Linked DNA regions of Homo sapiens: all the other regions are linked to region 1. Evidence: promoter capture Hi-C in 16 types of primary human blood cells and fetal thymus (Javierre and others, 2016). All regions are on one chromosome and are shown on one strand. Each heading gives the region's core, a stretch centred on a gene start or on the middle of the fragment in contact. The rest is flanking DNA. Distances are from core to core; before and after follow the strand shown.

Evidence for each region. Contacts are between HindIII fragments. The CHiCAGO score rates a contact against its expected background, and 5 or more counts as called.
Region 2: a fragment that was not itself captured here is called in contact with the fragment with the promoter of PALLD in region 1 in 1 of 17 cell types (endothelial precursors); the score reaches 5.3 in endothelial precursors.
Region 3: a fragment that was not itself captured here is called in contact with the fragment with the promoter of PALLD in region 1 in 1 of 17 cell types (endothelial precursors); the score reaches 8.5 in endothelial precursors.
Region 4: a contact is called between a fragment that was not itself captured here and the fragment with the promoter of PALLD in region 1, in 1 of 17 cell types (endothelial precursors). The highest score is 6.6, in endothelial precursors.

What each region holds. Positions count from the first base shown.
Region 1 is chr4:168,495,465-168,500,618 of GRCh38, forward strand. PALLD (palladin, cytoskeletal associated protein) reads left to right here and starts at 1,588. Exons shown (of 22, transcript NM_001166108.2): 1 at 1,588-1,730. All of the region lies in intron 1 of LOC107986198 (a long non-coding RNA gene), which reads right to left. The HindIII fragment of the contact is 1,197 bases long and covers 783-1,979 here.
Region 2 is chr4:168,192,507-168,198,047 of GRCh38, forward strand. LOC105377524 (a long non-coding RNA gene) reads right to left here. Exons shown (of 3, transcript XR_939424.3): 2 at 1,891-1,990. Among named protein-coding and RNA genes, the nearest start is that of ANXA10, 100 kb to the left of the region's middle. The HindIII fragment of the contact is 793 bases long and covers 976-1,768 here.
Region 3 is chr4:168,904,229-168,909,826 of GRCh38, forward strand. All of the region lies in intron 15 of PALLD (palladin, cytoskeletal associated protein), which reads left to right. It also overlaps a transcript of CBR4 not described here. Among named protein-coding and RNA genes, the nearest start is that of CBR4, 100 kb to the right of the region's middle. The HindIII fragment of the contact is 3,674 bases long and covers 1,398-5,071 here.
Region 4 is chr4:168,928,922-168,933,885 of GRCh38, forward strand. It overlaps a transcript of CBR4 not described here. Among named protein-coding and RNA genes, the nearest start is that of CBR4, 79 kb to the right of the region's middle. RefSeq lists an enhancer at 1,907-2,408. The HindIII fragment of the contact is 2,247 bases long and covers 1,406-3,652 here.

The DNA.
Region 1 (5,154 bases), core at 338-2,837:
CAACAAACCTGCTGGCACCTTGATCTTAGACTTCCCAGCCTCCAGAACTATGAGAAATCAATTTCTGTTCTTTGTAAATTACCCAGTCTGTGGCATTTTGTTATAATGACACAAACTAAGACAATCAATCAGAGTTATATTTCCTTGTAAGTATAAATTTTATTTTTTTATTTTTATTTTTATTTTTTTTAAGAAGGAGTCTCGCTCTGTCACCCAGGCTGGAGTGCAGTGATGGGATCTCGGCTCACTGCAAGCTCCGCCTCCCGGGTTCACACCATTCTCCTGCCTCAGCCTCCCAAGTGGCTGGGACTACAGGCACCCGCCACCACGCCCAGCTAATTTTTTGTATTTTTAGTAGAGAGGGGGTTTCACTGTGTTAGCCAGGATGGTCTCAATCTCCTGACCTCATGATCCACCCACCTCGGCCTCCCAAAGTACTGCAATTACAGGCATAAGCCACCACGCCCAGCCGTAAGTATAAATTTTAAAATCACTTCTTAATTAATATAATAGATGAAATGACCCACAGAAGTATCCACTCACAGAAAGGACCATTTCTAAAGGACCAGTTTGGCCTATAAAGAAAATACAATAGCAGACCTTCACAAATTTTCTAACATCAGAAAAGAAAAAATATTTAGATATTAAACTGAATCAAATGTGATGGTCTTACCCAGACAAAGGAAGACTCAGCACCCCATTTCCAAGTTAACTGGGAGCTTTTGTGTTGCTCTTTTTGCCCCCCTTATATTTGATTCTGCTACCTGACCTTTAAACAGAAAAGCTTTCTCTTCTTGCTATCTATGTTTGTTATTTAAAAGATCAAAATATTAAACTCTTGCTATATCTATTTGTCATTTGAAAGATCAAAATATTAAATGATTGTGAAACATTTTTTGCAACTGTAAGAGGGTTGATACTTTTCCTGAATATTATTCATTCAACATTCATTTATTTCTTTGACAAATATTTAAGAGATGCTCATGATGTCCTAGGCATTGAGCTAAGAACTCAATGTTGCAATGTGGATAAGATCCAGTCCCTGTGTGTTCATACTTATTTAATACTATTATAGACAAGGCCTTTAATACATACCATAGTCATATATCAATTTTTAATTAGCAATATGAAATAAGAGAACAATGGGACTTTCCACTCAATTTGACAGGTGGCTAAATTTTCAGTTACTGAATTTACTATTTTAGGGTAATCTAGCACATGACCAAAATTTAAATGCACAGAACAGAAGATCAGAGTAAGAAGAGCTTCCATTTGGATTATCACTTTTTCTACTTGGAGTCACATACTGTACTTTAAATTGATTAAGAACATGTTAAAGGTCCAGGTGGTGATTTCCAGCTACAAGTCCAAAGTATAGAAGAATGTGTTTAAATCCTACGTTTATCAGATCCATAAATATAGTTCCTTCTATGTTAAGTGGCTTTATTTCTAAGAACCCAGCCCTCGGTCCTGGGGGTGCTTCCCAGCCCGCTGCTGGAATTCCTGATCGTGGCAGTCTGCTGAAACATGAGCTCAGTTACCAAATATAGCTGAGTGGAGTAAGAGGACAGATGAGAGTCTGAGGCCACAGTTGCCTCAAAGTGACCACGGACCAGGCAGTCTCTAATGAATAGGCAAGGCCACAACCTCCATTCTCCCAGAAAAGAAGAAATGCTCATCTGAAATTCATCACCTCTCTGGAGTCTTCAAACTGACCAAGCATTGAAAAGGTCTGTAAGGTGTATCTTAATATACTAACTAGTAGGGCAACATTTTAAGGACTTAAAAAAAAAAAAACTAAAAATACAAAAGTTTTTCTGAAGATATGATACTATTTACAAGATACCTTAATTATTCTTTTGCTTGGAGAGGAAACGTAATGAGAATGTTACGGTTTTGCCAAAAACAGATAATACGTAAGATTTGCCTGCCCACTTCATCTCTGCCTTTGCTGTCAGAGAATTACACTTTCTGTTATAAGCTTAAGCATGCTAAGATGGTGCTATCAATTCCAAAAGGATTAAATGTATTTATGGAGCCAGCTTTTGTCAAGATCGTGTATGTGTTATGTTTCACAGAAAAGGAAAACGCAGCTTTCTAGACCCTCACCCATATTTAAGCTAGATAAGTGATGATGGCTTAAAGTGATAGACCTTAGATTTCAGTAACATTATAAATTGTTAATTACACTTTCAAAAGATTCTAAAAGTAACTCACTGGACATAATTAAATGAGTTGGGATAGTAACAGCAGGTATTTTAAATTATATTCATGCATAAAATTTACATACATATTTTTAATAAGATAACGCTTACTAAGGGAAACCACAGTGCAATCTCGAGTCCAGTCAAGTTTAAACATCACAGAATAATTTTTATCATGTTGTTTTAAGTTGCACATGAAATTGTCTTGAATCCAATATAGGAGGTTGACATAAAATGATTTCAGGCTCATATTACTTATTAACATTTGCTAAAAATACTAATTGCCTTCTAGTATGAATAATGTGGTGACATATAAAGCCATTTCTTGGCAATATAAAACTATTACAAATCTATTCAATCACATATATGCAGAAATTAAATCCTCATTTCATGATAAATGTGCCTTCCAATGTTTTTTCTCACAGAAAGAACTTGAATACTCACCTCAATTATTCAGATTTTTTTTTCAGATTTTTAAAATCAAAGTCTCTTTGACAAGTTATTGCTAACAGCAGAAAAGGCCGATGAGGTTTATCTGGCCACTAACTGCCCTGTAAATACATGATTACACATTCCTAGAATATAAATTAGTCCTCTGGCATCCTAGAATCTGGTATGGATTAGGGTCTGTATCCCAGGGGTTCTGTGTCAGCTCTTCCTCTGGGTTTCTCTGTTATTGCTAGAGCTGAATATTAAAACTGGCCTTATAGCATATTTCACAATAGAATGAGGATCTGGATTGCACTGGACAAGTACAATCACTTTGACCTCCTTACCTCATTTTTTAAAAATGTAGAGGGCAATCATTATTCAGGTTTAAAAATAAATATGACAAGTTCTTTAAGAGATACCAAGTGGAATCTGCAAGGCCCAGACAAGAGCTCCACTTCTTAAACAATATGTGTGTGGAGGCTGTCAAAGGGTATTGCAATTACTGAGCTCCAGTTAGAAATTCAGGCCATCTAGAGTTAATGACTGTGTCCCGGTGAAATTACAGCAAAGAAAACAAAGATTGAACAAAGTATCTTCGACTAAAATTTCTAACTGTTAAATCATATTAGAGAATATAGAAGCAAATTTGGTAAATAGGTTTTGAATTTAAGTGAGAAGAATAAAGCCCTGAATTGGATAATGGTAATGGAAATGGATAATTCAGAAGTAAAATCTAAATATTTGCAATGGACTCAGTATGGTGAATAAAGTTGATAAGATGAACAGGACATGGGATAACTTCAAAAACTCTGTAAAGTATCTTATTTGGCTGTTTCTGCATTAAATGAGCTATTAGATTATGTCCTTGAAATTGAGATTAAATAAGCTGTTTAAAGAGATATTTAAAACTGTAGGATAAATATATCTGCCTGCATTGACAATTTAATAATTAGAAAGGAAAATAATCCATGTGTATTTATTAAGAAATAAATTATAAAATTGTAGTGCATTTTCTGCATCAAACATAAAATTTCATAAAATTTTCGTGTTTGACTTTTGCCCTAAAGGACCCTTTGTAGCAAAAAAAAAAAAAAAAAAAAAAAAAAGGAAGGAAGAAAGAAAGGGAGACGGGGAAGAAGGAAGGGAGAAGGGAGGGAGGAAGGGAGGGAGGATGGGAGGGAGGATGGGAGGGAGGATGGGAGGGAGGAAGGGAGGGAGACATGGAAGAAGGGGGAAGGGAGGCAGAAGGGAGGGAGGGGGGAGGGAGGAAGGGAGGGACTTTATTGATTTAGTCTAGGGGGGTTGCCTGTGATTCTGAAGCATGAAAATTAAGTGTTAAAGCTTTTCTAACTTTGGTTTTCATAGTTTAGGTTTTATTAAAAGATATTTCAATATCTAATATTTGTATCAATGGTTTGCATTACTTTTTTAGTAATTGCTTAAATATGAAAATAAAACTGCTAAACCTAAAATTAAAAATCACTTATAACTTTTTTTCAAAAATTACAAAATAAGCAACAAAAGATCCCCCTGCATGTCCCACCTTTCAACTCCTACCCCTGCCTAAATCCCCCCACAGAGGTCAGTGTTGATTGTTTGGTGTATGTTATTCCAACCATTTTCATATATTTATTCCTATCTATGTATACATTTTTAAATGACTATGGGAATTTAGCTATTCCACCTGGACTCTCTAAAGAATCTGCTGAATGTGGTACATGGTATTAAGTGATCCTTACTGCCTGTCAATGTTTTTCTAACATCAAACTTTTTCTTTCAAAATTGTAGCAGTTCTTCATCGACTCAAAGTATTTCACAAACAGACTTCAAAAGTTTTCCCCTTATCTAAATTTTTAAAGTAATTTCCTATAATATCTCCAATGAGAGAAGAAAACTTTGCAGTTAAATGCAGGCTTCCACCCTGAGTCTGCCACTTTCTGATGGCTCAGGTTGGGCCAAATAATTGAAACTTTTTCTGCTGCAGTTGTGGGTAATACAAACAATAAAATAGAAAAATAACATCTACTACATGGATTGTTCTGAGGATCAAACTGTTCACTTTTGAAAGCAGGTAACTTCCAAGCTGTTATGTAGGAACAACTTGCATTGTCACTGAATTCTTTCTACTTACTAGACTCTGCTCTTTCTCATGTATATTCCTTGTCTTCCCCAAGTTCCTCCACGTCAAAGAAATCTGTTGTAATTTCAACAGTCAATAGTGCCTTGATTCATGGGGATCATGCCAGGGGGTGGTCCCATAAGTCTTGTTTGTTTGTTTTTTGAGTCAGGGTCTCACTCTTTTGCCCAAGCTGGAATGCAGTGACCTGATCATCGCTCACTGCAGCCTAGAACTCTTGGACTCAGACAATCCTCCCACCTCAGCCTCTGGAGTAGCTGGGGCTACAGGCACACACCATCACACTCAGCTAAGTTTTTGGGTTTTTTTTTGTATTTTTGTAGAGATGAAATCTAACTATGTTGCCCAGGCTGGTATTGAACTCCTGGGCTCAAGCGATCT
Region 2 (5,541 bases), core at 122-2,621, 300 kb before region 1:
AAGAAATACAAGTGGCCAAGAGGTATATGACAAAATGCTCAAGATCACTAATCATCAGGGAAATGCAAGTCAAAACTACAATGAGATATCACCTCACCTCAGTTACAATGGCTTTTATTTAAAAATCACAAAATAACAGATGCTGGTGAGAATCCAGAGAAAAGGGAACTATTAAACACTGTTGGTGAAATGTAAATTATGCAGCCACTATAAAAAGCAGTGTGGAGATTTCTCAATAAACTAAAAATAGTACTACCACATGATCCAGAAATCCCACTGACAGGTGAAGCCAGTTGGACTTCCTGGGTCAGTGGGGACTTGGAGAACTTTTCTGTTTTACAAGAGGATTGTAAAACGCACCAATCAGCTGGGCGTGGTGGCTCACGCCTGTAATCCCAGCACTTTGGGAGGCCGAGGTGGGCAGATCACAAGGTCAGGAAATCAAGACCATCCTGGCTAACACAGTGAAACCCCGCCTGTACTAAAAATACAAAAATTTAGCTGGGTGCGGTGGCAGGCGCCTGTAGTCCCAGCTACTCGTGAGGCTGAGGCAGGAGAATGGTGTGAACCCGGGAGGTGGAGCTTGCAGTGAGCCAAGATTGCGTCACTGCACTCCAGCCTGGGCGACAGAGTGAGACTCCCTCTCAAAAAAACAAACAAACAAACAAACAAACAAACAAAAACCACACCAATCAGCACTCTGTGGCTAGGATTGTAAAACGCACCGCTCAGCACTCTGTAGCTGGCAAGAGGTTTGTAAAATGCACCAATCAGCACTCTGTAAAGGGATCAATCAGCATCCCATAAAATGGACCAATCAGCAGGATTCTAAAAGTAACCAATCATGGGGAGGACTGAGAAAAGGGCATTCTGATAGGACAGAAACAGGACATGGGAGGGGAAAAATAAGGGAATAAAAGCTGGCCACCCCAGCTAGTAGTCGCAACCTGCTGGGGTCCCCTTCCACGTTGTGGAAGCTTTGTTCTCTTGCTCTTCACAGTAAATCTTGCTGCTGCTCACTCTTTGGGTCTGTGCCACCTTTAAGAGCTGTAACACTTACTGCAAAGGTCTGCGGCTCCATTCTTGAAGTGAGCGAGACCATGAACCCACCAGAAGGAACCAACTCTGGACACACCACTACTGAATATTTATCCAAAGGAAAATAAATCTGTATATCAGAGGGATACCTGCACTCATAGTTATTGTATCACTCTTCACAATAGCAAAGATATGGAATCAACCTAGGTGTCTATCAATAGATGACTCAATAAAGAAAATGTGGCATAAACACACAATAGAATACTAATTGGCCATAGAAGAAGAATAAAATCACGTCATTTGCAGCAACATGAATGGAACTGGAGGTTATTATACTAAGTGAAATAAGTCAGGCACAGAAAGACAAATACCACATCTTCTCATTCATATGTGGGAGTTAAGAAACTTGATCTCATTAACATGGAGAATAAAATGCTAGATACCAGAGAGTGGGAAAGGTGGGTAGGCAGGCGGCTGTATAAAGAGATGTTGGTTAATGGGTATTAACATGCATTTAGATGGAAAAAAATAAGTCCTAATGTTTGGTAGCAGACTATGATGACTACACTTAGCAAGAATATTGTGATAAAACTTGAAATGATACCAAAATATAGAAAGGATAAATATGCAAGGTGACAGATACCCCAAGTACCCTGATGTTGAAACCAACCCAATAGTCCCATATACTGTTCTTTTTGATAAACGTAGAAATTGATCCTTCTGCTCTTAAAGCTTGAAGCTTATATTTGTTTTATCTGAGTTCCTTCCTTTGGACAGGATCTTCAGGCCTCTCAGAAAAGTATCAAAGAACTGAAATTTGCCTCAGAAAAGTATCAAAGGACTGAAACTCACCAGATCACAGCACCAGTTGTCAGACTTCTCATTCATGATGATGGCTTCCTTGCCCCTCCTTAGTTCCTGTTTTCTTATGCATGGTTACATTTCTTCCCTGCTATATAAACCCATAGTTAGTCAGTCAGGGAGATGAATTGGAGACTGAGCTCCCATCTCCTTGGCTGCAGCACCAAGTTAAAGCCTTCTTCCTTGGCAGTACTCATCATCTCAGTGATTGGCTTTCTGTGCAGTGAGCAGTAGGGCCTAGACCAAACCCTTGGTATTGCAGTAACAATGGGACCATTACATATTCTATCCCTGCAACAAACACTCACATATACCCCATAAATATGTAAAATATTATATATCAAGGAAAGAAAAATAATGGGTAACTAGGTAACATGAACAAATTAATTTGCATCACTATGGTAATAATTTTACTATCTATAGCTATATCTTAAAACATCATGTTGTATACCTTACATATATACATTCAAATTTATTTTTTAAAATGGAAGATATATTTCAATAACGTTAGAAAATGAGAAGGGATCAAAATGATAAGACATAAAAATCAATGGAAATGAAAGGAAGTGGCAATTGAGAAAATGAGGAACAATAATAGTATAAGACTAAAAATCCATATTAGCAATTACTTTAAATGTAAATGGTTTAAACACTCCAATCCAAAGGTAGACATTGGCAGAATAGATTAAAAAAATAAACATAATCGAATATATACTGTCTGAAAAGACTCCTTTTAGATCCCAAAGCACAAAGAGGCTGGAAGTAAAATGATGGGAAAAGATATTCTATGCAAACAGCAAATAAAAGAGATTTGGTTTGGCTATACTAATATCAGACAACATAGATTTTCAGTCAGAAACTGTTATAGATTCTGGGGTGACCTGGCAGTGTTGCCACACAGGCATTTTAGTCTCAAGCTGGAGACTGGAGTGCCTGGCCTGGAGTTGGGTAGGGGCCTCCACAGCCAGAACTGTGGAAAGCATCTCAGCAGTAGGTGTTGGAATTGTGTTCTACCCTGTTGCAATCCTGGGGAAAGAGGAGTACTTCTAAAGCTGCAGTTTCTCCTGGACAGTGAGATTTGCAGCCAGGTCAAGTTTAGTAATCTGGAATCAGTCTGCATGTGCCATTTCTTGGTGCCCCAGCCTGCTATCCTGAGATCATGATGCAATGGGGTCCATACCACTCCACTCCCAGGCAGAATTTCAGGCACTTGGAGCATCTATTTGATTGGACGAATAGCCTGAGCCACCCTATCCTTCATAGACACAGATTGTGGTCCAGTCAGGCCCTCTCCACTCCATGCCCATACAGATGTCCATGCATGCAGGGTACCCATTCACCTGCTTCAGCAGCCTGAGCTGCCCCACACTTCCTGGGCATAAATTGTGGTCTAGCATGGCTCTCTGCTCCATGCCTAGGCAAAGCTCCAGGTAGTCAGAGCATCTGCTTGCCTGATTCAGCAGCCCAAGTTGCCTCACCCCTCCTGTGCAGAGATCTTTGTAGAGGGGGGCACTCCTTGCTTCAAACCAAGCAGATCTCCAGGCACTCAGAGGACGATGCTTACCTGGATCAGCAGCCTGACCTGCCCAGTCCTTCCTGTACAGAGATCCTGGTGCATGGAGGCCCTCTTTGCTTCATGCCCAGGCAAATCTCCAGACATTCAGAGCACCCACTCACCTGGTTCAGTAGCCTGAACCACCCCACTGTTCCTGGACATAGATTATGATGCAGTGAGCATCTCCCCACTCTGTCCCCAGGAAGATCTCCAGGAATTCAGAACACCAATTCACCTGTATTACCATCCCAAGCTGCCCCATCCTTCCTATACAGACAACCTGGTGCAGGGGAGGTCCTCTCTGCTCCACATCCAGGTAGATCTCCAGGTACCCAGAGAACCTACTTTCCTCAAATAGGAGCTTAAGCCACCCTCCATCCCCAAGCAGAAAACTTGGGGCCAAGGAGATTTCCCAGCTCCATGCCTAGGCACACCTCTGGGCACCTGCTGGCCACCCACTGGATTCTCTCTTGGCATTGGCGGTGTGCCAGACATTGGGGGATAAGTAGGTGAGCCTGCCTAGTCTGTCCCCATCTATTGTAGCCCCTGCCCCCTGCCTCCAGGGCTGAGCAGGGAACTCAGATAACTGTGCATTTCATGAATCAGCCCTTTGCCTGAGGCAAAGAGAGCCTCTACCAGAAAATAAGGATCAAGTATATACAAAGCTGTGTTGGCTGCAGCTGGCTCTTTTCTATAAGCACCATCTAATATCTTGTAGGCAGAAATGCACAGTCTAATATAAAACCTGCTGAAGGAAGTAAATAAGACTATAGAAGCAAACCCAAAAGACCCTATTCAGCATTCTCTACAGTCACACCCCCTAGGGAGATAGGGAAGAGAAAAGGAAAGAAGAAAACGCAATAATATTATAGGAAAAGAAATAAAACACAAAAAATCCCACCTACACAAAATAATTACAAATATTGGAAGTGCCAGCATCTCCAGATGAAAAAACCCAGTGCAAGAATTCTGGCATCACGAAAATCTGATTGTAGTAACACCACCAAAGAATTGCACTAGCCCTCTAGCAATGGTCACTAGACAAAATGGAAATTAAGAAATGACAATTTAAGAACTGAAAGCATGGATTGCAAGGAACCTTAACGAGATCCAAGACAAAGATAAAAATCAACACACACAAAAAAAAAACCTCTATAGCAACCCAGTAAACAAAGGAAAACATTAACATATTTTTAAAAAATCAATCAGAGCCACTGGAATTGAAAACCTCACTTACGGAATTTCAAAATACAATTGGAAGCTTTAAAGCTTTATTAATAGAATAGATCAAAAGGAAGAAATAATATCACAGCTTGAAGATTGTTTGTTCAAACTGATTGAGTCAAAAAAATTAAGGTAAAATAATTTTTAAAAATGAACAAAGTCTTTGAGACTTTGGGATCCCACACATAATATGGGACTATGTAAACCAACCAAACCTACACATTTTGGCATTTCTGAGAGAGAAGGAGAAAAAAAGTAAACAGCATGAATAACATATTTGAAGGAATAATTCAAAAAAATTTCCCAGCTGGGTGCGGTGGCTCATGCCTGTAAACCCAGCACTTTCAGAGGCCAAGGCGGGCAGCCTCATGAGGTCAGGAGATCGAGACCATCCTGGCTAACAAGATGAAACCCTGTCTCTACTAAAAATACCAAAAAAAATTAGCTGGGCATGGTGGTGGGCACCTGTAGTCCCAGCTACTTGGGAGGCTGAAGCATGAGAATGGCGTGAACCCGGGAAGTGGAGCTTGCAGTGAGCTGGGATCACGCCACTGCACTGCAGCCTGGGTGACAGAGCAAGACTCTGTCTCAAAAAAAACAAAAATAATTTCCCTAATCTTGCTAGATAGGTAAACATCCAGATACAAGAAATAGAAAGAACACCTGTACAAAAATACCTATACAAAATGAAAATCACCAAGGTATACTCACCAGACCATCCAAGGTCAACAGTAAAGAAAATATCTTAAAGGCAGCTACAGAGAAGGGACAGGTCACTTACAAAAAGAACCACATCAGGCTAACAGTGGATTTCTCAACAGAAACTTACAATCCAGGAAAGACCACAGGCCTATTTTCACCAT
Region 3 (5,598 bases), core at 1,985-4,484, 410 kb after region 1:
AATATAACTTCAGGTAGGATTACATGAAGAAAATAAAGGAGAAAAAGAGTGAGTGGCATGCATAGGCTGTATAAGAAAAACTCAACAAAGTAAAATATTTTAAAAGAAACACATCAGTGGGATTTAATGTGCAAATGTAGACAAATGATAATTTTGATAGCATTCAGGTTTATCAGTTTTCATCAAAATGTTTTCTCTTGTATTTGCCTTTAGACTTAGGGTCAAAAAATCAGTTGCCTTCTTAGAATTTAATAGGAGGCTGCTGGGTATCATGTTGCCAGTTCGAGCCTGCAAATTCTTTTTTATTATGTTATACATTTTAGTCACTATGCTGGATATAGGGGATACAAAAATGAGTAAAAAGTTATTTTGTACCTTAAGAGCTCAATGTATGACAGGTAGTTTTACTAAAGTCTGCAAAAGTAGTATAAATAACACACTTTTAAAAAGAAAAAAAAAGGCATGGTAAAATGAGCAGTTTTCTCTAGAAGTCATCTTTTTAGAATCTCTGATCTACTTATATCATTCCATATTATTTCTTTTGAAGAAAATATTTAGCATTAGAAACTATATAAATAATTTTAATGACACTACAAACTTTTAATTAAAGTTTCTGGCCCAGGTGCAGTGGCTCACATCTGTAGTCCCAGCACTTTGGGAGGCTGAGGCAGGTGGATTGCCTCAGCCCCGGAGTTTGAGACCAGCCTGGCCAACATGGCGAAACCCTGTCTCTACTAAAAATACAAAAATTAGCCAGGTGTGGTGGTAGGCACCTGTAATCCCAGCTACTCAGGAGGTTGAAGCATGAGAATCACTTGAACCTGGGATGCGGAGGTTTCAGTGAGCCAAGACTGCACCACTGCACTCCAGCCTGGTTGACAGAGTGAGACTTTGTTTTTTGTTTTGTTGGTTTTTTTTTTTTTTTTTTTTTTTTTTTTTTGAGATGGAATCTCACTCTGTCGCCCAGGCTGGAATGCAGTGGCGCGATCTCGGCTCACTGCAAGCTCCGCCTCCTGCGTTCACACCATTCTCCTGCCTCAGCCTCCCTAGTAGCTGGGACTACAGGCACCCACCATGCCCGGCTAATTTTTTTTTATTTTTAGTAGAGATGGGGTTTCACCATGTTAGCCAGGATGGTCTCGATCTCCTGACCTCGTGATCCGCCCGCCTCGGCCTCCCAAAGTGTTAGCATTACAGGTGTGAGGCACTGCACCCGGCCTGAGACTCTGTTTCTAAATAAATAAATAAATAAAGTTTATTCAAGGTTTATTATATTCTAATATTCCATGGTCATATAAATATATTTTTCTGCAATAATATTAAGATCAGAATGAAAACAGATTATCCAGCTAATCAGGTTGTGATAGAGCACAGCAAACTCTTCACTGTTAATGAAAAGCTTCTATATTAATGCACATTCTTAAAGTTCTAAATGTTTTAATCAATGAATACATGACCATCACCCTGAAAAAGTCTAAATCACTATTAAGAAGTTGCATTTTAATGTTTGTGTTCATATTTGATATATATGAAGAAACAAAAGCGGAACTTGCTTTTTTTTCTTTTTTTTTTTTTTTTTTTTCTTTTTTGAGACGGAATCTTGCTCTGTTGCCCAGGCTGGAGTGCAGTGGCATGATCTTAGCCCACTGCAGTCTCCACCTCCTGGGTTCAAGCAATTCTTCTGCCTCAGCACCACCACGCTCAGCTAATTTTTTGTATTTTTAATAGAGACGGGGTTTCACCTCAGGTGATCCACCTGCCTCGGCCTCTTTTTTCCTTATTATATTTTCAGTGCATTTCCTTGACATTAACAAATTCTAGCTTTTAGTTTAGTTTTCTGCCTGTTTAAGAAAATGGTGGAGAACTGACAAAATCCAAAATTTTTCTTCGTGTTGGGTCATTTATTCCTCTTTTGCCCTAGAAAGGCTGGGGTATATTATGGGATGGAATTATCTGTGGTCCTTACGTATTTGCCAACACTGGGAACCTGCTATTAATTTCAAGACATTTTTCTTAGCATGTTTTAAATTGTTATTGGAATAAGCCATTTTATAGAACAAAAGAACATAAACGTAAAACTGCAATTGTGAGTCCGCTTAGTGTCTTCCTCAAATTATAATAATGCATTTTTACATGTGGAAAAGTTCTCAGTGAGGAAGGACTGACTCAGTGCTCATGGCCAATGGCAGTGTGCAGAGTTTAAGACAGCAGGCCAGCCTTGGGGGTCAGTAGTCTCCAGTCATTTAAACTCTCTTGACAAATTATTATGAAGTCACTAGATGAAGGTGAGCTGCTGAAAATCTCCCTTGGATCATTCCATATTACATACATATAATATCACATTGTACCCCACAAATATATACAATTATAATTTATCAATTAGAATAAAAAAGAAATTTTTGTTTATTCATTTAGAGACAAGGTCTTCCTCAGTCACCCAGGCTGGAGTACAGTGGCATAATCATGGCTCACTGCAGCTTAGAACTCTTGGGCTCAAGCAGTCCTCCCATCTCAGCCTCCCAAAGCACTGGAATTACAAGCGTGAGCCACTGCCATTAGCCAAAAATAAATTTTTAGAAAATAAATGTAATCTTACCCAAAGCCCAATATATAATGCCAAAAAAAAGAAACCCTTGTTAACATAGGAAAAAAAGGAAAGGAAGGAAATAAAAAAGAAATGTTACTACAAATACCAAGATTGTAGGGCAACACCGATGATACTGAAAAAACCTAGGATGAGGCCGGCAGGCCATGCAGTACAGGGGTTATGAGCATGAACTTTGGCATCAGGCAATCTCAGCTGGAATTCTAGCTCTGCCACTCACTACCTGTGTGACCTTAGCAAGTCACTTAACTTCTCTGTGCCTGTTTCCTCCCTCGTAAAATGAGGATGATAATAATAATAATAATAATACAGATTTAAATAGTACATGTAAAAAGCATTCAGTTTACCTGGCACATACTATGCTTTCAATAAATGCTAGTTACTGTCATTATTTTAATTCAGAGACAGTAACTACCCCATCTTAAAGCAACAGGCCTACAACAGAAGCCTGTGGAACCAGATGTAAAGGATCAGTTCTGTGTCTAGGTACTCCGTTCCCACAGTACTGTCAGAAAGTAAGCAAGTCAATTTGGGATGGAATTTCTACCCAGTATGTTGTTGCTGTGTGGTCTTCTGACCTCCTGGCTTTTCCATTTTATCACCTCCATGGGAAAGGACTTAGGCAGCAGATGTGGCTGTGCCACAACTGCCACAGCTGTGGGCTTGGGTGGAGGAGCTGTGAGCTAGAGGACGGCCACACCCATAGCACAGCTGACATCAGCCACACATGAAGCTGGGAAGCTGCTCTCTACTCTCAGCACCCTCAGGGCCAAGAGAAGCCCCAAAAGAGAGTGGTTACTGCCCTTATTCCAGGCCCCAGAATTCTCTGCTTTGCAAATCCCAGGCTGAGCCCCATGGTTAACCCTCTCTGGTTCTTTGCTCTACCCTTTGGAGAGAAGACAAAGCAATGAGAAGTGGACCAAGAACAGCCCTCCTAATAGAATATCCTATCCAACCTGTGATTTCAGCCAAGGGTAAAATAACTACTCTGGGTCTATCAAAAGGAGAAAAAAAAAAGATTCAAAGAACCCAGAGCATCACAGTAAACAGACCAGTTTCTAACACTACCTATTATAGTATTCCAACCAACTCCAAAGATCAGTTGACACTCCCAGCATCTTAAGGGGTAGGGCTAAGAGTCTTCTTTACCTAAATAACCCAAGACAGGCAAAAGGAAGGGAAACTCATGAAGTCTAGGCCTCAGTGTGTAAATGTATATATCCCACTGAAATTGCTGTGAGAGAATTTTGATATTTATGCCACTTAGCAGTAGTAGTATTTGTTCCAAGTTTCTGAGCATGTTGCCTAGTTGATTTTAATTCCAAGAGTAAAACCCCTTCTTTTCTGTCTTGGGGGCTTCAGTAACTGGTATGTCCAAATATGGCAGATATAAGTTCTGTGAGTCATCACTTAAAAATTGGAGTGAACTTCACTATCCATTAGCAAAACAAAGTGGCATTTAAACCATGACCAGTGACACACCATTTTTCTACCTAACTCTTGGCATAAGTTACCATTTGTTGCTGTAAGGATGCCATTCTGGAAATGTTTAATGCTCTTAGAATCTCAGCTTTACAACATCTATTACCGTATATTAAAACTTTTTTCTTATAATTTATGAATTAAGACATGAGTTTAAATAGTCATGTCATAAAAGGTGGTGAAAAAAAAATTCAAAATAGCTAAATCTTTCAAGATATAGTAATCCCAAAAGCATAAAGTGTAGTTGACAGAAAACTGAAGTTGACTCCTTACTTCCTTAATGCCCTTTAGTTACCTTAAATTTTGAAATTTTAAAGTTATTTGAGTTTAGAAAAAAAAGTATTTGGGTTTGAAAGGGAGAATACATGTATGTTTTCTAGTACACTGTAGCCCAGATGAAATGAAATAACCAAGGAAAAGAGGAAGACTAGAGTGGAAAAATTAGTTCAGTAATGAAACACAGACGGTAGAGCTCTCCTGAGCAGTGGAAAATAATTACAGAAAGCAGCCAAGAGAAGGGTGAGAACCAAGGAGGGAGGAAAATATTAAAGTTCAGCAGAATATTTTATAGAATATGATATTTTTCCACCTGGGTTAATCTTTTGGGAATAAGAAAAACATTAGATATTGTTGACTGCATCCAAATTCTACTTGGGATAGAACACACAGCTCTAAACATATACTGGGCTGTGTATCACACTCGATGTGTGTAGCTCAAGCAATTCATAAGAGACCAAAGCAATCACATAGTTTAGCAAAATAATGAGTGACTGTGCAGTTACACCAAAGAGAATGCCAAAATGAGGATCACAAATACAGTTTATTTTAGACTCTAATCCTATCTTTAAGAACAACGACATCTAAACACGAATGTTTTACTTTGTTTTGTTGTGTTGCTAAGTTACTTTGTATTGCACTTGGATTTTGGAATGGCTATTTTGCAGTCTGATGTTTCCTCAAACTGCATTATGTATACAAGTGGCAAGCTTTTATGAAGACCTGTGTGCCACAAGTTAAATTTCATAAACTATGAAATATAAATGTTATTTCCATATTACATAAATAATTGGCCTTGCACAAGGTATGAAATAATCTTTACAAGCTGGATGTTTAATACAGAATCACTTTTAGAATTCAAACTTATTTGTAATATAAGCTTTAAACTCTGTGGATTTGTTTGGAATGGAAAAGTAACACACAACTGAGTTAAATATAAAATGTTAGTTTGTTGCTTGTGTTTTGTTTTAGCATTATAAGGTTTCCTGGCTCATTTCAAGCTTCACTCTAAACATTCCCTTCCATTATTCTTATGTTCATAGTAAAGCAGATAGAAATGAGAAAATTAATAAAAGCAAATGCAGCAGCATTAATGTGCATCAGAGCCTACTAACTATGATTACCAGGGTTAATAGGCATATTATTATTAAAATCACTTATTGCTAATTCTATATGACCTTTGTCAAAAATAGTATGTTCAGACTTAAAAACCTGAATTTTCTATTATGCACATG
Region 4 (4,964 bases), core at 1,279-3,778, 430 kb after region 1:
TTAATTACATCTGCAAATCCCTTCAAAGCAGCAGCTAAATCGCCATTTGATTGGAATAACTGAGAGAAGGTGTGTATACACCAGAGGATGGGGATATTAGGGGCCATCTTACAGTTCTGCCTGCCACAGCAATGTACTGTAGGTATGCATGTAAATACACACCAGTGCCATGACGTACAAGGATACATAAAATACAGCAAGATGATATAAATTAAAAGTGAGGGGAAAAGGAAGAAAGTAAGTATAAATGGAACAAGGAATGAGATATTACACACACACACACACCCATATTCATATACACATATAGCATTAATATCTACATAGTTACAACAGACGGACAACATATTTGGGCCTAGGCTTTCCTACTACGGGAAAGAGAAAGCTGGTCATTTATCTAATTCACAGCCTCCATAAGGTGAAAATATTTCATCTTTTACATATGCAATATAATGGAGCTTTGAGGATACATTTGAATTAGACTAGAATTGTGTATTTCACATTGTCTTCTATACCCCATGACTTGCTATGTAGTTTACAAGATTCATTATATATTTTAATGCTGAATTTGTCCTTGATTTTCCCTTTTATGAACATGCATAACATGACAATCCCCTTGGCTTGCTCAGTAGCTACAACCTCCTTTATCATCATGTAAATTTAGTTTGACCCCTTTAAATTATAGAAATACAACTTCTATATTATGGTGGTGAGGAACTTGAGTGTTGGAGTTGGCCAACCAGGATTTGAATCCTAGCTCTTTTGATCATGTGTGACCCATAAGCAAGTTACTTTACCTCCCCAAGCCTCAGTTTCCTTATTTGGAAAATGGAGATTAAAATAGCACCCCTCTCTTTGTGCTGCTGTGAAGATTATATGGGATGATAATTTTGACATGGTACCTGGCACATAGTAAGAGCTCAATAAATTTCAGCTATTATTTTAGTGTAGTTGGAAACTAAAGTAAAATTTCAATTACAAAATGTGTACACACCTAACAAAATTCCACAGATGGTTAAAATTTGTGAACTTGGATGGGAAAAACATTACCCCCTAGCTGAAATTTAGAATTTCCTTCAATTATGAATGTAGGCAACAAAACACAACAGTATAAAATACCTGGGACTGTCCTAGTAAAAATTATATTACAAATATTGAAATATCTTAAAATCCATCTAAATTCAGCATTACTTCAAAATTATGGCAGTTGTTAGAGTTACCAATAGATGTAATTTATAGGCATTTGTATTATAAATTTGTTTTTAATACTTTGATAATTACTTAAAAATAATTTGTTTTATGTATTTTATGCCTCCATGAACATTATTTTGAGAAGGGATCCAGAAGATTTACCAGAGGGTCAAAAAGGCATATGGCACCAAAAAAATTAAGAACCAGGCCCTACAGAAGCTTAAATACGTAGAAAAGGATAAAAAATTTGAGGAAAGCCTAATTTGTCATTAGTAGAAGAAGGAACAAAACTAATTAATTCATACAATGAAATATTACTTACTATTCAGAGTTAAAGGTAAAGAAATGGATTTACTTCTATTGGCAGGGATAAATATGAAAAACAGCATTTGACGAGGAAGGGAAGTTACATAAGAGTGATGTCAGCAAGATGGCTGACTAGAGGTTCCTGGCATTCATCCCCCCAAGAAAGGATCAACAAATGAACAAACAGTTAACATTCAACTGAAGTGTCAAAGGAAGAGCACTGGAGTGCAGTGGGGGTAGCTGCGGTCACTGAAAGTCCAGAAGGCAGCATGGAGACACCTTGTCTCTGCTGCCCATGCCCCTGCATCCCCCAACTCTGACTGGCCTGGAGTCAAGAGGAGAAACTTTCCTTTGCTGGGAAAACGTAAGCAGAGCCCCATCAGCCCCCATTACCACTGCAAACACCTACAATCCTTACTACAGGAGAATTCCACAGTCCTCACAAGCCCTGAACCGACTTTAGAGAGCCACTGTCGATTGCACAGCTGCATTCCTCTGGATTAGGAACATGAGATATGTACTCTCCACCCCTTAGGTGCCTGCTGTGGGGCCCAGTAGCAAATGCACCTCTCCAGCCCAGCGGCTCTGTCATTCCACCAAGCACACATGGGTGGCTGCAATGCCACAACCCTGGAGGCTCAGAACCTGGGCCCAGGATTGGCTGTGACTCTGGTTCTGCACAGCAGGAAAACCAACCATCATTGCCTGAACTTCCAGGCAGAGAAACAGTCTAGCAAATTCTCCCAAAGCATACATACCTACCCTTGAGCTGGCCAAACTGGGCCCCTGAGCTGCTAAGCACCTGACATGCCCTCAGGCCAGAACCAGTACCAGCCTATCTCCTAAGCCTGAGAAACAGCCCAATGCCCCCTACCTCCATGGACATGCCTCCAGGCCTACCCAGTGGAACTGTGCCCAGGCTAGGGTATGAGAAACAGTCCAGTGGGCCCAATCCCAGCATACATGTCCCTAGACCTTCCCAGCAGCCCTGTGCCCATGCCCAGGGCCTGAGAAACAGCTTGGGAGATTAACTTCCAGTAGACACACCCCTGGGCCAGGTGAGCTGTCACATGACCATGCCCAGGGCCTAAGAAAGAGCCCCATGGGGTCAACCCCCATGGACACACCCCCTGGCTGGCTGAGAGGCACACCACTGTCCCAAGCCCAAGAAACAGCCCACTTGGCCCACCTCTGGCAGACACACCCCCAGGCCAAATGAGCATGCCTGTACCCAGGGCCTGAGAAACATCCCTGTGGCCCCAATCCCAGCAAGCAAGACCCCAAGTTGGTTGACACCGTTCACACACATGCCCCCAATTTGAGAAACAATCCAGTGAGCCCACCCCAGCAAAGCTGCACCACCACTGCTACAAATTCTCACAGCCTAGGCCACTGGGCACTTACAAACATCAGCAGACTGGATTACAGCTGAAGAATCTGCACAGACACTACAGTACTGCATCCACCTAGAACCAAAGCCAACACACCCCCCCTAACTGACACTATAAGATCCTCCAATACAAATACGTCTTTCCCTACAAAACCTTTCATCAAATTAGAAGAGGTGACTGTTCTACCAGATGCATAGAAATCAACATCAAGGAACATATCAAACATGAAAAAACAAGAAACCATGATACCTCCAAAAGAACACAATAATGCTCCAGTAACACACCTTAATCATAAGGAAATATGTGAAATGCCATAAAAAGAATTGAAAATAATAATCTTAAGGAAGCTCAGTGAGGTAAAGAGAATATAGCTAAACTGTTCCCTCAAATCAGGAAAGTAATTCATGATTTGAATGAGAAATTCAACAAAGAACATAAAAAAAAAAAACCCAACAGAAATCTTAGAGTTGAAGAATTCAATGAATAAAATAAAAAATGCAATCAAGAGCTTCAACAACAGATTAGACAAAGCAGGGGAAAGAATTTCTGAACTTGGAGGTAGGCCTTTTGAAATAACTCATGCAGACAAAAAAAAAAGAATAAAGAAAGCCTACAGAATGTATGGGACACTGTTAAGTGAACAAATATTTGCATTTTGGAACTCCAGATGGAGAAGAGAAGGAAAAAGGTATAGAAAACAGATTTAATGAAATCACAGCAAAAAACTTCCCAAGTTTTGGAAAAGAGATGAACATCTAGCTCTAAGAAGCTTAAAGTCCCCAAAGAGATTCAACCTAAACAGTTCCTCTCTGAGGCACATTATAGTCAAATTGTCAAAAGTCAAATACAAAGAAAGAATTCTAACAACAGCAAGAGAAAAACGTCAAGTCACATATAAGGGAATACCCATTAGGCCAACAGCAGATAGCAGAAACCTTACAGGCCGGGAAAAAAAGAAATAATATATTCAATGTACTAAAAGAAAAATATTGCCAGTAAAGAATATTGCTTTAATATTCTTTATTAAATATAAGCAAAGCTATTCCTCAGAAATGAAAGAAAATAAAGTCTTTTTCAGATATGCAAAAGCTAAGGGAAGACTAGCCTTACAAGAAACACTCAAGAGAGTTTTAGATCTGGAAGTGAAAAGACAATAACCACCACCATGATGAAAACAAATGAAATTATAAAATTCACTTGTAGAGCTGATATACAAAAGAGAAAGAGAAAGGAATCAAACCTTATCACTACAGAAAACCACTAAGCCACAAAAATAAACAATAAGGAGGATTAAAGAGAAAGGAATATACAACCGGAAAACCATCAATAAAACGACAAGAGTTAAGTCCTCACCTACCAATAAATAACCTTGAATGTAAATAAATTAAATTCCCCAATTAAAAGACGTTGAATGAATGAATGAATAAAAAAACCATGCAACTATATGCTGCCAAATAAAAACTCACCTCACCTGTAAAAGACACACAAAGACTGAAAGTGAAGGGATGGAAAAAAATAATCAATGCAAACAGAAACAAAAAGTGAGCAGAAGTAGCTATTCTTATGTCAGATAATACAGGCTATTTAAGTAAAAAGTGATAGAGACAAAGAAGGACATTATATAATAATAAAGGTATCAATTCAGCAAGAAGACATAACAATGGTAAATATATATGCACCCAACACTGAAGCACCCAGATATATAAAGCAAATATTATTAGATCTAAAAGGAGAGATAGACCTCAATAAAATAACAGTTGGGAACTTTAACACCCCACTTTCAGCACTGGACAGATCATCTAGACAGAAAATCAACAAAGAAACATTGGATTTAAACTGTACTACAGACTAAATGGACCTAACAGACACCTACAGAACATTTCACCCAACAGCAATAGAATACACATTCTTTTTATCAGCACATGGAACATTCTACAGGATTGACCATATATTAGGACACAAACCAAGCTCAAAAAATTTTTAAACACTGAAATCATATCAAGTGTCCTATCTGACCACAATGGAATAAAACTGGAAATCAATAACAAGAAGAATATTCAAAACTGTACAAATACATGG